2 separate regions of the Homo sapiens genome follow, and region 1 is linked to region 2. Evidence: promoter capture Hi-C in human tissues and cell types (Jung and others, 2019). All regions are on one chromosome and are shown on one strand. The core of a region is centred on a gene start or on the middle of the fragment in contact, and the rest is flanking DNA. Distances in the headings are between cores, read along the strand shown. Region 1 has its middle 400 kb from the start of MGC4859. Region 2 holds the start of NXPH1 (neurexophilin 1).

Region 1 (5,955 bases), core at 167-2,666, 1.9 Mb after region 2:
GATTAAATGAATGGCTAACTAGAATAAACAGTGTAGAGAAGACCTTAAATGACCTGATGGAGCTGAAAACCACAGCACAAGAACTTCATGACGCATGCACAAGCTTCAGTAGCCGATTTGATCAAGTGGAAGAAGGTATCAGTGATTGAAGATCAAATTAATGAAATAAAACAAGAAGAGAAGTATAGAGAAAAAAGAGTAAAAAGAAATGAACAAAGCCTCCAAGAAATATGGGACTATGTGAAAAGACCAAATCTATGCTTGATTGGTGTACCTGAAAGTGATGGGGAGAATGGAACCAAGTTGGAAAACACTTTGCAGGATATTACCAAGGAGAACTTCCCCAACTTAGCAAGGCATGCCAACATTCAAATTCAGAAAATACAGAGAACACCACAAAGATACTCCTGGAGAAGAGCAACCTCAAGACACATAATTGTCAGATTCACCAAGGTTGAAATGAAGGAAAAAATGTTAAGGGCAGCCAGCAAGAAATGTCAAGTTACCCACAAAGGGAAGCCCATCAGACTAACAGCGGATCTCTTGGCAGAAACCCTACAAGCCAGAAGAGAGTGTGGCCCAATATTCAACATTCTTAAAGAAAAGAATTTTTAACCCAGAATTTCATATCCAGCCAAACTAAGCTTCATAAGTGAAGGAGAAATAAAATCCTGTACAGATAAGCAAAAGCTGAGAGATTTTGTCATCACCAGGCCTGCCTTACAAGAGCTCCTGAAGGAAGCACTAAACATGGAAAGAAACAACCGGTACCAACCACTGCAAAAACATGCCAAATTGTAAAGACCATAGATGCTAGGAAGAAACTGCATCAATTAACGGGCAAAACAACCAGCGAATATCATAATGACAGGATCACATTCACAAATAACAATATTAACCTTAAACGGAAATGGGCTAAAATGCCCCAATTAAAAGACACAGACTGGCAAATTGGATAAAGAGTCAAGACCCATCAGTGTGCTGTATTCAGGAGACCCAGCGCACTTGCAAAGACGCACATAGGCTTAAAATAAAGGGATGGAGGAAGATCTACCAAGCAAATGGAAAGCAAAAAAAAGCAGGGATTGCCATCCTAGTCTCTGATAAAACAGACTTTAAACCAACAGAGATCAAAAGAGACAAAGAAGGCCATTACATACTGGTAAAGGGATCAATTCAGCAAGAAGAACTAACTATCCTAAATATATATGCACCCAATACAGGAGCACCCAGATTCATAAAGCAAGTTCTTAGAGACTTACAAAGAGACTTAGACTCCCACACAATAATTATGGGAGACTTTAACACCCCACTGTCAATATTAGACAGATCAACGAGATAGAAGGTTAACAAAGATATCCAGGACCTGAATTCAGCTCTGCACCAAGCAGACCTAATAGACATCTACAGAACTCTCCACCCTAAATCAACAGAATATACATTCTTCTCAGCACCACATCACGCTAATTGTAAAATTGACCACATAATTGGAAGTAAAGCACCTCTCAGCAAATGTAAAAGAACAGAAATCACAACAAATTGTCTCTCAGACCACAGTACAATCAAATTAGAACTGAGGATTAAGAAACTCACTCAAAACTGCACAACTACATGGAAACTGAACAACTTGCTCCCAAATGGCTACTGGGTAAATAACAAAATGAAGGCAGAAATAGAGATGTTCTTTGAAACCAATGAGAACAAAGACACAACATACCAGAATCTCTGGGACACATTTAAAGCAGTGTGTAGTGGGAAATTAATAGCACTGAATACCCACAAGAGAAAACAGGAAAGATCTAAAATTGACACCCTAACATCACAATTAAAAGAACTAGAGAAGAAGGAGCAAACAAATTCAAAAGCTAGCAGAAGGCAAGAAATAACTAAGATCAGAGCAGAACTGAAAGAGATAGAGAAACAAAAAACCCTTCAAAAAATCGAAGAATCCAGGAGCTGGTTTTTTGAAAAGATCAACAAAATTGATAGACTGCTAGCAAGACTAATAAAGAAGAAAAGAGAGAAGAATCAAATAGATGCAATAAAAAATGATATAGGGGATATCACCACTGATCTCACAGAAATACACACTATCATTAGAATATACTATAAACATCTCTACACAAATAAACTAGAAAATTCTAGAAGAAATGGATAAATTCCTGGACACTTACACTCTCCCAGGACTAAACCAGGAAGAAGTTTAATCTCTGAATAGACCAATAACAGTCTCTAAAATTGAGGCAACAATAGCCTACCAACCAAAAAAAGTCCAGGACCAGATGGATTCATAGCCGAATTCTACCAGAGGTACAAAGAGGAGCTGGTACCATTCCTTCTGAAACTATTCCAATCCATAGAAAAAGAGGGAATCCTCCCTAACTCATTTTATGAGGCCAACATCATCCTGATACCAAAGACTGGCAGAGAAATAACAAACAAAGAGAAAGAGAATTTTAGACCAATATCCCTGATGAACATCGATGCAAAAATCCTAAAGAAAATACTGGCAAACCAAATCCAGCAGCACATCAAAAACCTTATCCACCACGATCAAGTTGGCTTCATCCCTGGGATGCAAAGCTGGTTCAACATGCACAAATCAATAAACATAATCCATCACATAAACAGAACCAATGATAAAAACCACATGATTATCTCAATAGATGCAGAAAAGGCCTTCAAAAAAAATCAACACCCCTTCATGCTAAAAACTCTCAATAAACTAGGTATTGATGGAACATATCTCAAAATAATAAGAGCTATTTACGACAAACCCACAGCCACTATCATACTGAATGGGCAATAACGGGAAGCATTCCCTTTGCAAACTGGCAAAAGACAAGGATGTCCTCTCTCACCACTCCTATTCAAGATAGTGTTGGAAGTTCTGGCCAGGGCAATCAGGCAAGAGAAAGAAATAAAAGGTATTCAATTAGGAAATGAGGAAGTCAAATTGTCCCTGTTTGCAAATGACATGATTATATATTTAGAAAACCCCATCGTCTCAGCCCCAAATCTCCTTAAGCTGATAAGCAACTTCAGCAAAGTCTCAAGATACAAAATCAATGTGCAAAAATCACAAGGATTCCTATACCCCATTAACAGACAAACAGAGAGCCAAATCATGAGTGAACTCCCATTCACAATTGCTACTAAGAGAATAAGATACCTAGGAATCCAACTTACAAGGGATGTGAAGGACGTCTTCAAGGAGAACAACAAACCACTGCTCAATGAAATAAAAGAGGCCCCAAACAAATGGAAGAATATTCCATGCTCATAGATAGGAAGAATCAATATTGGAAAATGGCCATACTGCCCAAAGTAATTTATAGATTCAATGCCATCCCCATCAAGCTACCAATGACTTTCTTCACAGAATTGGAAAAAACTAATGTTTATATGGAATCAAAAAGGAGCCCTCATTGCCAAGACAATCCTAAGCAAAAAGAACAAAGCTGGAGGCATAATGCTACCTGACTTCAAAATATACTACAAGGCTACAGTAACCAAAACAGCATGGTACTGGTACCAAAACAAATATACAGACCAATGGAACAGACCAGAGGCCTCAGAAATAATGCCACACATCTACAACCATCTGATTTTTGACAAACCTGACAAAAACAAGAAATGGAGAAAGGATTCCCTATTTAATGAATGGTGCTGGGACAACTGGCGAGCCATATGTAGAAAGCTGAAACTGGATCCCTTCCTTACACCTTATACAAAAATTAATTCAAGATTGATTAAAGACTTAAATGTTAGACTAAAACCATAAAAACCCTGGAAGAAAACCTAGGCAATACCATTCAGGACATAGGCATGGACAAAGAGTTTGTGACTAAAACACCAAAAGCAATGGCAACAAAAGCCAAAATAGACAAATGGGATCTAATTAAACTAAACAGCTTCTGCACAGCAAAAGAAACTACCATCAGGGTGAATAGTCAACCTATAGAATGGGAGAAAATTGTTGCAATCTACCCATCTGACAAAGGGCTAATATCCAGAATCTACAAGGAACTCAAACAAATTTACAAGAAAAAAACAAACAACCCCATCAAACAGTGGGAAAAGGATTTGAACAGACACTTCTCAAAAGAAGACATCTATGCAGCCAAAAGACACATGAAAAAATGTTCATCATCACTGGTCATCAGAGAAATGCAAATCAAAACCACAATGAGACACCATCTTACACCTGTTAGAATGGCAATCATTAAAAAGTCAGGAAACAACAGATGCTGCTGCAGAGGAAGTGGAGGAAAAGGAACACTTTTATACTGTTGGTGGGAGTGTAAATTGGTTCAACCATTGTGGAAGACAGTGTGGTGATTCCTCAAGCATCTAGAACTAGAATTACCATTTGACCCAGCAATCCTATTACTGGGTATATATCCAAAGGATTATAAATCCTACTACGATAAAGACACATGCATACGTATGTTTATTGTGACACTATTCACAATAGCAAAGACTTGGAACCAACCCGAATGTCCATCAATGATAGACTGGATTAAGAAAATGTGGCACATATACACCATGGAATACTATGCAGCCATAAAAAAGGATGAGTTCATGTCCTTTACAGGGACATGGATGAAGCTGGAAATCATCATTCTCAGCAAACTATCACAAGGATAGAAAACAAAACACTGCATGTTCTCACTCATAGGTGGGAATTGAACAATGAGATCGCTTGGACACAGGGCGTGGAATATCACACACTGGGGCCTGTCGGGGGGTGGGGGCTGGGGGAGGGATAGCATTAGGAGAAATACCTAATGTAAATGATGAGTAGATGGGTGCAGCAAACCAACATGGCACGTGTATACCTATGTATCAAACCTGCATGTTGTGCACATGTACCCTAGAACTTAAAGTATAATAATAAAAAAGGCAAAAAAAGGAAAAAAGAAAATGTTATATATGTGTGTGTGTGTGTGTGTGTGTGTGTGTGTGTGTGTGTGTACACACATACATACATACGTACCATGGAATACTACTCAGCCATAAAAAGTATTGAAACAATGGCATTCACAGCAACCCGGCTGGAGTAGGAGATAATTATTCCAAGTGAAGTAACTCAGGAATGGTAAACCAAACATCGTATGTTCTGACTTATAAGTGGGAGCTATGATACGAGGACGCAAAGGCATAAGAAGGATATAATGAGCTCTGGAGACTCGCAGGGAAGGGTGGGAGGTGGGTGAGGGAATAAAAGACTACATACTGGGTACAGTGTACACTGCTCATGTGGTGGGAGCACCAAAATCACCAAAATCTCAGAATTACCACTAAAGAACTTATCCATGTAACCAACTACCTGTTCCACCAAAACTATTGAAATAATAATAATAATATTAATAAAAACACTTGAGCTTTTGGGAAAGGGCAGATTGATAGTAACTAGCATTGGTACTGCCCACTCATGATTAGTCCAAGAAGTGATCATTGCCCAGAAGAAAGAAACTGTCTACGAAGCATTTCTTTCCCCAGCCATGGTCACTTCTGGCAGTGCTGCTATATCACTTCTATTCATCTTTCCCCCAAAAAACCCCACATGCATTCCTGTGCCTTCTGTTTTTGTAGTACAAGTTCTCTTAACTAACCATGTTACTGCCTTACCAGGTAAACTATGGCTCTCTATCTCTTCTTTAACTGTTCTGATTGAAAACCATGGGATATGGAATTCTTGCAGCTAAGAAGCTACTGTTGTTTGTATGTAGGCTTTCACTCTCACTAATTGAGTTATTTTTACTCATTATTAGTTATTGCTTACCAAGAATTAGGTCTACTTAATCCTAAACTGTTCATTCCAATTGTATTTATTGTTACTAGGTAATTCAATACAATATTATGCAAATTGATGAAATATAAAATAAAGCCTATTTCCACAACACACAGAAAATATATGCACCCCATACTGGATCACCAAGATATATAAAG
Region 2 (6,697 bases), core at 3,561-6,060:
CTGAAGTTAATTATGGTGAAATTGTAATATAGTTGTTTTCATTAATTTGATATTAAAAAGGGAGATTGAAAGATTTGTTGCATCCCTGTGATATCTCCTATTTAAAAGGTGTCTAATCCAAAACACTGTTATCACTATGACACTATGATATTTGGGTTGAAGCAGTTCTTTGTTCCCTGCCTGTATAAGTCATCTTGTTTTAGAGTGATGTATTCATATTGTCAAATCAGGATAAAAGCTGGACAAACATGTATGTTTCAAAATATCTAGGTACTTTAGATTATGGAGATGAACTATGCATTTACAGACTCATTTTCAGCTTCTGATAACCAAAGAGCTTGTAGCCTTTGTCCTTAACAATTTCTTCCATCCCTGCGTGGTTGAGAGTCCCAGTGTTCTTTCTGGCTGAAAGCAGATACTGTATTTTGCTTTGTTAACAGAACATTGGTTATCAAGTTCTCTGTCTCTAATGATTCTGTTTTAGGGAACTGTCAATTAATAATCTCTGGAGGAATCATCATAAAGAATTTCTGTAATGAGATTATAATGCAAAGGTTTGTTTAGTCACAATATTTTTTAAAATTTTAATTATGATTTTCGGGCGATGACCCCAATCTTTCCATCTTTTACATTCAACTGCCTTTTAAATGCTGGCTTCCTTCAATTTCTCTTATTATGTTCATCCTCTTTTTAAAGTTTTTGAGCATAACTAAAACTACCCTACCTTTGAGAACCCTCTGTCTTCACCTAGTAGAATAAATGAAATGTGGATACAAAGGCTGAGCATATAAATTACCTTTAAAAAAGAAAATGCCTTCTACATAAAGCTTTTTGATTCCCTTTAGTTTTTTTTTATTCTAGAGCTTGACGGCTATTTTTCCTCTCTAGTCCAGTGACCTTGTTATTAAAGCATTATTGTAAAGGTAATTTAGCACACATGCCTCATAGTTATTAACCGAGTTCTACCACATTCAAATACCAAATATTCCAGGCTGGTAAAAATCACTATGCAAATAATCCTTCCTTCCACTAGCAAAATATGTTGGGGGAGTGGAGAGGCCAGGGGCTTTTTTAGTAGTCCTGAGTGACATTTAAGAATTCTGCTAAAGGCCAGGCGCGTTGGCTCATGCCTGTAATCCCAGCACACTGGGAGGCCAAGAGGGGCAGATCACGAGATCAGGAGACTGAGACCATCCTGGCTAATATGGTGAAACCCCGTCTCTATTAAAAATACAAAAAATTAGCCAGGCGTGGCGGCGGGCTCCTGTAGTCCCAGTTACTCGGGAGGCTGAGGCAGGAGAACGGCATGAACCTGGAAGGCGGAGCTTGCAGTGAGCCCAGATCGCGCCACTGCACTCCAGCCTGGGCGACAGAGCGAGACTCCGTCTCAAAAAAAAAAAAAAAAAAAAAAAAAAGAATTCTGCAAAAGTAGTGGAAATAGCTTTGGATCTTTTCTAACCGATATTCATAAGTATAATAAGGATGCCACTTTGAGTGTAGATTCTCATAAATCAGTGACATTAAAAACATGTACAGAACAATTTACATGAAAAAGTAATATGATGAATTCAATACAGTCAACCTCTGACCTAGAAGAAAGGTTATGAGGGTGGAGCAGGGAAGAAATGCAGAAAAAATCTTTGGCTCAAACCTATAAACACACTTGACTAAAAAATCTTTGAAATGCACCAAAAAAGAATGTTTTTTCAAACTGTTAATATCTTTGAAAATCATAATGCAGTACACAATTGTTTTTTGGGAAGCAGGTAAATTTTTTAAACCTGCATTTAATCATAAAAGGTAAAATAAAGGAACTTTAGAATTAGAAATCATTTAAAACATCATGTAACCTTACTTCTGCATTATACAGAGGAGGGTACCGAGGCCAGGTGAATATTTAGGCACTTGTCCAGGACTACACAACATGCAAATGCCAGGTTATACTGAATTAAGGGCAGGAGGGTGATACAGTCTTTGTAAGTTTTCTATCACTATTAGGAAAAAAAATAGGTACAATGCAGTACTATGTACAAAGTGATGTAATTTGGCCTGAAGCTTAAGCAAGACCACAGCTGGATGCTTTGTAACAATAGTTCTCTGTTTTTACTTGGATTTTGGGTAGAATATGATGATATTAAGGTGTTTAAGACAGGTTCATTTTAGGACAAAATTTTGTAGAACTCAGCCTCTCTCTTTATGTCTCTCTTCTCTCCAGCCCCAAGATAATTCAAACCTCTCCCTTCCCTCTCCCCTGCCAAAAAAGAGAATCATACAAATGAACCAAACCAAAATAGATAATTACATTTAACAGAACTATCAGTATATGTCAGAAGATTCTAGTTTAATTTCTTCTGGTTTTAACTTTCAGGAAAGTTAATTTCACTATTTTCTTTTGATGCAGCCCATTTTAACCCTTTAAAAATATATTTCTTAGAGACAAAGATCTATATTATTTCTCGTACTGTTCATTTCAGGTTGGACCAGGTAGACATGGGGAAAAGCAGATGCAGAGGGTTGTGTTTTACAGTGGTTATCATTCATACTAAGTTTATATCTGTATTAAGTTGCATTGCACACAAAGTTTGGAAACAGTATTTCTGAAAGAATTTTCAGCATGAGTAAAGTCAGTAAAAATTGGTACAAACACTATACTTCTTAAGGTAATCACACTTTTGTTCTCACTCAATGAAGCTGACTGTTCATGTATTCTAAGAGTGCATTTTAGAGTAGGATACTACTTGAAACAGAAGAATGTAAGAAAATCATGCTTTTATTGCTCCATTGTTCTTTATAAAGCAAATGATAGGAAAAAAGGAGGGTGAATGAACCATTCTTGTCCACTTCTCCCCCAATATTATATTATTAAAACTGGAGTGGTTTAGCAGAAACGATACATTTTTCTGTGTTACTTGGTGGCTCGGTATCCTTTTCTGGTTGAGTATTATAGGAGATGAAGACCCCTGTGAAATATGAAAAATGACAATCCGCCACTGTTTTATATCACAGGCCAAGTATCTCATAGGATCCAGCGAAGGTTGAATGTCTGGGCAGAAGATCTCAGGTCATTAACAGAAAAAGCTCTTTGGCATCCTGTGTCATAGAACAAAGTGTCAAACCTGTTCCCATTACTAGGTGCCTGTGGTGCTTTTCTTAAATAATCAGTCCCATTCAGACAGACATTTTAAGGTCTCTGATCATCTTTCTATTTCACAAGCAGTATTTTTTTAAGGCTAAATGGCACTAGAAGCAGAATGTTTTTAAAGTAAGGTTTAGAAAAGAACTTGGTATATTCCAAAGCTAGCCGGATTCTTTCTCATTTTCCCAAAGGTCAGACAGAAGTTCAGCTCTGACAGCATTGTAGCTGGGAATCCAGATAGAGGCAGGCAACATTTGCTCCAGCTCTACACTCCAGTCTGGGAGGCCTGGGAGCTCCTGTACAAATAGGAATCAATTTTAGGATAGCCTTATGAATCCTAGAGGATGGAATTAGACAAAGCTTTTTTTGCCCCTGCTTTGACCATTTGGCCTCAGATACGGGTGCCCCAATACTTTAATTTTTCTTCTTTAAAGTTTAAAGTTTTTAAGAAAATGAAATAGCTGGTAAGTGAAAATAGTCAAGAAAACATTGTAATTATGCTATATGTACATGTGCGTTTTTTCTGAAGTGGATTTTCAGAGACACAGTTAGAAGGTGTGCTTCACTGCTTTATTCTGCATATGCCCCAATGAATTCCAGGAGGTCACAGCAGCAGAGTACAACTTTTAAGATTAGAAGAGCTTGCTCTTTAAAGAGTTATTTTTAGCTGGAAGGGAGAGTGTAGACCTCAAAGTGCTGGTAGGTATGTTCTACAGTGGGGATCTAATTTGGAGGTCTTTGGAGATCTGATTCCAGGGGAAGGTCTCAGTGGGGCTCCTCTTGCCTCTGCTGCAGGACTGGGTGGCTCTGCTGATTGTCACTGCCTTGTTTGAGGGGTGGTCTCCATCATCCAGGGGAATTCAGCCTGGGACCTATTGTCTAGAGTGTACATTGTATCTAGGCCCAGACCTGCCAGAGTGTCCACAGCCACACTTGAGGAAAGGACATTCCAGACTCATTAAATATCACAATTCGATTTTGATGTCACTAACTCAGGTTCCTGAGATAAATTTCCATACAATTCCTACAGATTGATATGGATATGTGCATCACCCCAGGAGAGGCTCTGGTGAAGGGCAGGCTTGGAGATGCAATGGGCAAGGTTGGGGAAGAGATACCCTCTTCCGGGTTCCGATTTGTGCCCTGAATTTGGGCAAGCTCAAGGAGCACTGGCAACCCCACCAGCACCAGAAGAAGCTGGTCCTGGCTGTCTCCCGAGACTGGTGAAACTGCTCTGGTGGTGGTGCACTGGAAGGGTGGAGGAAAAAAAACAAAAAACAAAACAGGGTTTGAGGGGGAATGGCAGGGACACGGTAGAGGCACAGAGATACAGAGACCTAGAGTCAGAAATCCTGAGTGAGACACACAGAAAGGCAGAAAAAGGCAGAAAGATGCTGAGGGACAGAGACGCAGACCACAAGAATGACAGAAGAAGGAGACAGAGAGAGAGAGGGAGTGAGAAAGATACTGAGAAATAGGGACAGTAAGGGAGAGACTGAGAAAGACAGAGACAGCCAGAGTCGGAGCACAGAGGCCGAGTCTGGGAGACGCTGGTTGAGTGGGAGGTGTCAGTAGCGAGGGAGGTGGTGACGGCTCGAAGCATCCCCCGTCCTCCTCCTCCCCCTTCACGCTCAGCCCAGCCGGCGGCGAGGAGTCCAGAGGCCAAGGTCGCCCAGTCCTCTCGGCTGTCTCGAGCTGAATGGCTGGCAGTCTGCGGCTCCCCCGCCTCCGGCCCGGCAGCCACAGGTCGGAGGCGCCCGGCGTCGGCGCTCGAGGCCGGCAGGGGCGCCCTGCACCCTCCCGCGCCCTTCCCCGCCCTACGCGACTCCCGGCTGCTCTTCCCGCCACTCCCCTGGGCTTTGCGATCTTCCCTACGCCCCCCGGGAAGGGGGCGCTGCGGCCACCGAAGACACCGCGGGAGCCACTTGTCCCTGTGGGCCCAGCCCGCGAGAGCCTGAGAGCCGGATCTGTTTACACAGGGTACTAATTAGTCTTTGAGGAATCATTCACCCACGTGCCAAAGTAATTGTCCGTGTCAGGAAGGTAGGCGTGCCAAGCCGCGGCTCTGCGGAGAAACCACGACCACCGCGGCCGCCGGAAACCCAAAGCGCTCCAGAGCGTCCCCGGGTGGCCGGGCAGCACCAGGGACAGCGCCCGGGACTCCACTGGGGACCGGCTCCTGGGCTTCCCAGCGTCGCGGGTAGAGGTACAGCTGCTCCGTGTGCCGCAGGCTCCAGATTCTCGCCACCCCACCCCTCCCTCAGAAACTCGGACTGCTCTCGTCTGCCGTGTGGTTCTCTTTTCTTCCGAAAGGCCAGTGTCTTATCTCTCCACTTCAAGTCCAGAGGACTTGCTCAGTCTCCTCCCCTTAAGTCATTTCCACCATCCTCAGGCAGCTGTGGGAAGCCGAGAGTCCTGGACTGTTCGTCCGGGTGCCAGCGCTGGCAGTCCCAGTCCGTCCGGTGCAGCAGCCCGGCGCATTCCCCTCTCTCCCTCCCTCTTGCTCTCCCTCCCTTTCTGTCTTCCTCTCTTTCCTCCTCTACTGCTCCCTCCCTCTCTTGCCTCTTAAGTTTCCTGCACCGTGAATCCAACTGTGCCAAGCCTTGGCTCCCGCGAACCAATCCTGAGCGCGACCCGGGCACTGGGACGGCGACTCCGCCAAAGCTGGACGAGGCAGCCGGACCCGTCTGCGCTCGAGCATGGAGACGGAGCGCCTGGGAGGGCACGTCCGGGGCGCTGGAGACGCCAGGCCCGAGTAGCTTCTCCATGGAGCCTGCCCAGAGCGGTCCCTTCTCGCAGGATTCGCCCCAAGTCCTGTGCGGTACGTACCCTTTGCCTCCGCTGTTCCCGGAGGGTACACCTGGGAGCGGGGTGGTGGGCACGAGGAAGGGACGGCAGGGAGGGGCGCTGGTTAGGAAAGAGAACAAGCCTGGCAGGTGACCCTCACAGCTCGGAGGAGGCTTCTTCTCTAGAAGTTAGCGACCGGCTGTACCCTTTGGCTCGAAAAAAGTAGTGCTAGAGATGTGACTGTGAGCATTCGTGGGTATCTCTGTGTGCGCCAGGGGTTCGAATGGGTAAACTGATCCCTGCTTTCCTGTATGCAAATTGCATTCTCTTTCCCCACCCCCACTTCACCGAACGTGTTGAGGTACCTAGCACCTAATCGCGGTCAGTTCTACCTACCTCTTCCTCTCACCGCGCCCCCCTCGCTCAATCTCTCTCTCTCCCTTTATCTTTCCCCTCTATCTCTCTCTGCTGGTGTGTACGTGTGTGAGCACTGCCAGGGCTGGCGAAGAACCAGCCGCCGCCTTTAGTCCGAGCCGCCGGGCCACCCAACACAAGGGCAGGTCTCGCTGCCGGAGAAGCCTGGGCTCCGAACCAGCCTGCACGCGGCTCAGTGTGCTCCGCCGCCTGGGAACTCGCACCCGAGGAGCGCAGGGGGCAAGGAGCCCCTCACCCTCCCTCTCGTCCGCCCGCCCGCCTCCCCAGCTGCGGACCGCGCGCTTGCTGGTCTCAGGCGCTGGATTTACTCGCTTTTCAATTTTTCGTACCCTCCCTCCC

What was found. The method cuts DNA at HindIII sites, captures the fragments that hold promoters and counts their contacts. A contact is called where the count stands out against the background at its distance.
Region 1: a fragment that was not itself captured here is called in contact with the fragment with the promoter of NXPH1 in region 2 in 1 of the 25 tissues and cell types used here (spleen).

What each region holds. Positions count from the first base shown.
Region 1 is chr7:10,373,796-10,379,750 of GRCh38, forward strand. No RefSeq gene overlaps it. Among named protein-coding and RNA genes, the nearest start is that of MGC4859, 400 kb to the right of the region's middle. The HindIII fragment of the contact is 4,586 bases long and covers 1-3,709 here.
Region 2 is chr7:8,428,799-8,435,495 of GRCh38, forward strand. It overlaps NXPH1 (neurexophilin 1), which reads left to right and starts at 4,811. Exons shown (of 3, transcript NM_152745.3): 1 at 4,811-5,957. RefSeq lists enhancers at 5,375-5,922, 5,923-6,470, 6,471-6,697. The HindIII fragment of the contact is 8,604 bases long and covers 2,776-6,697 here.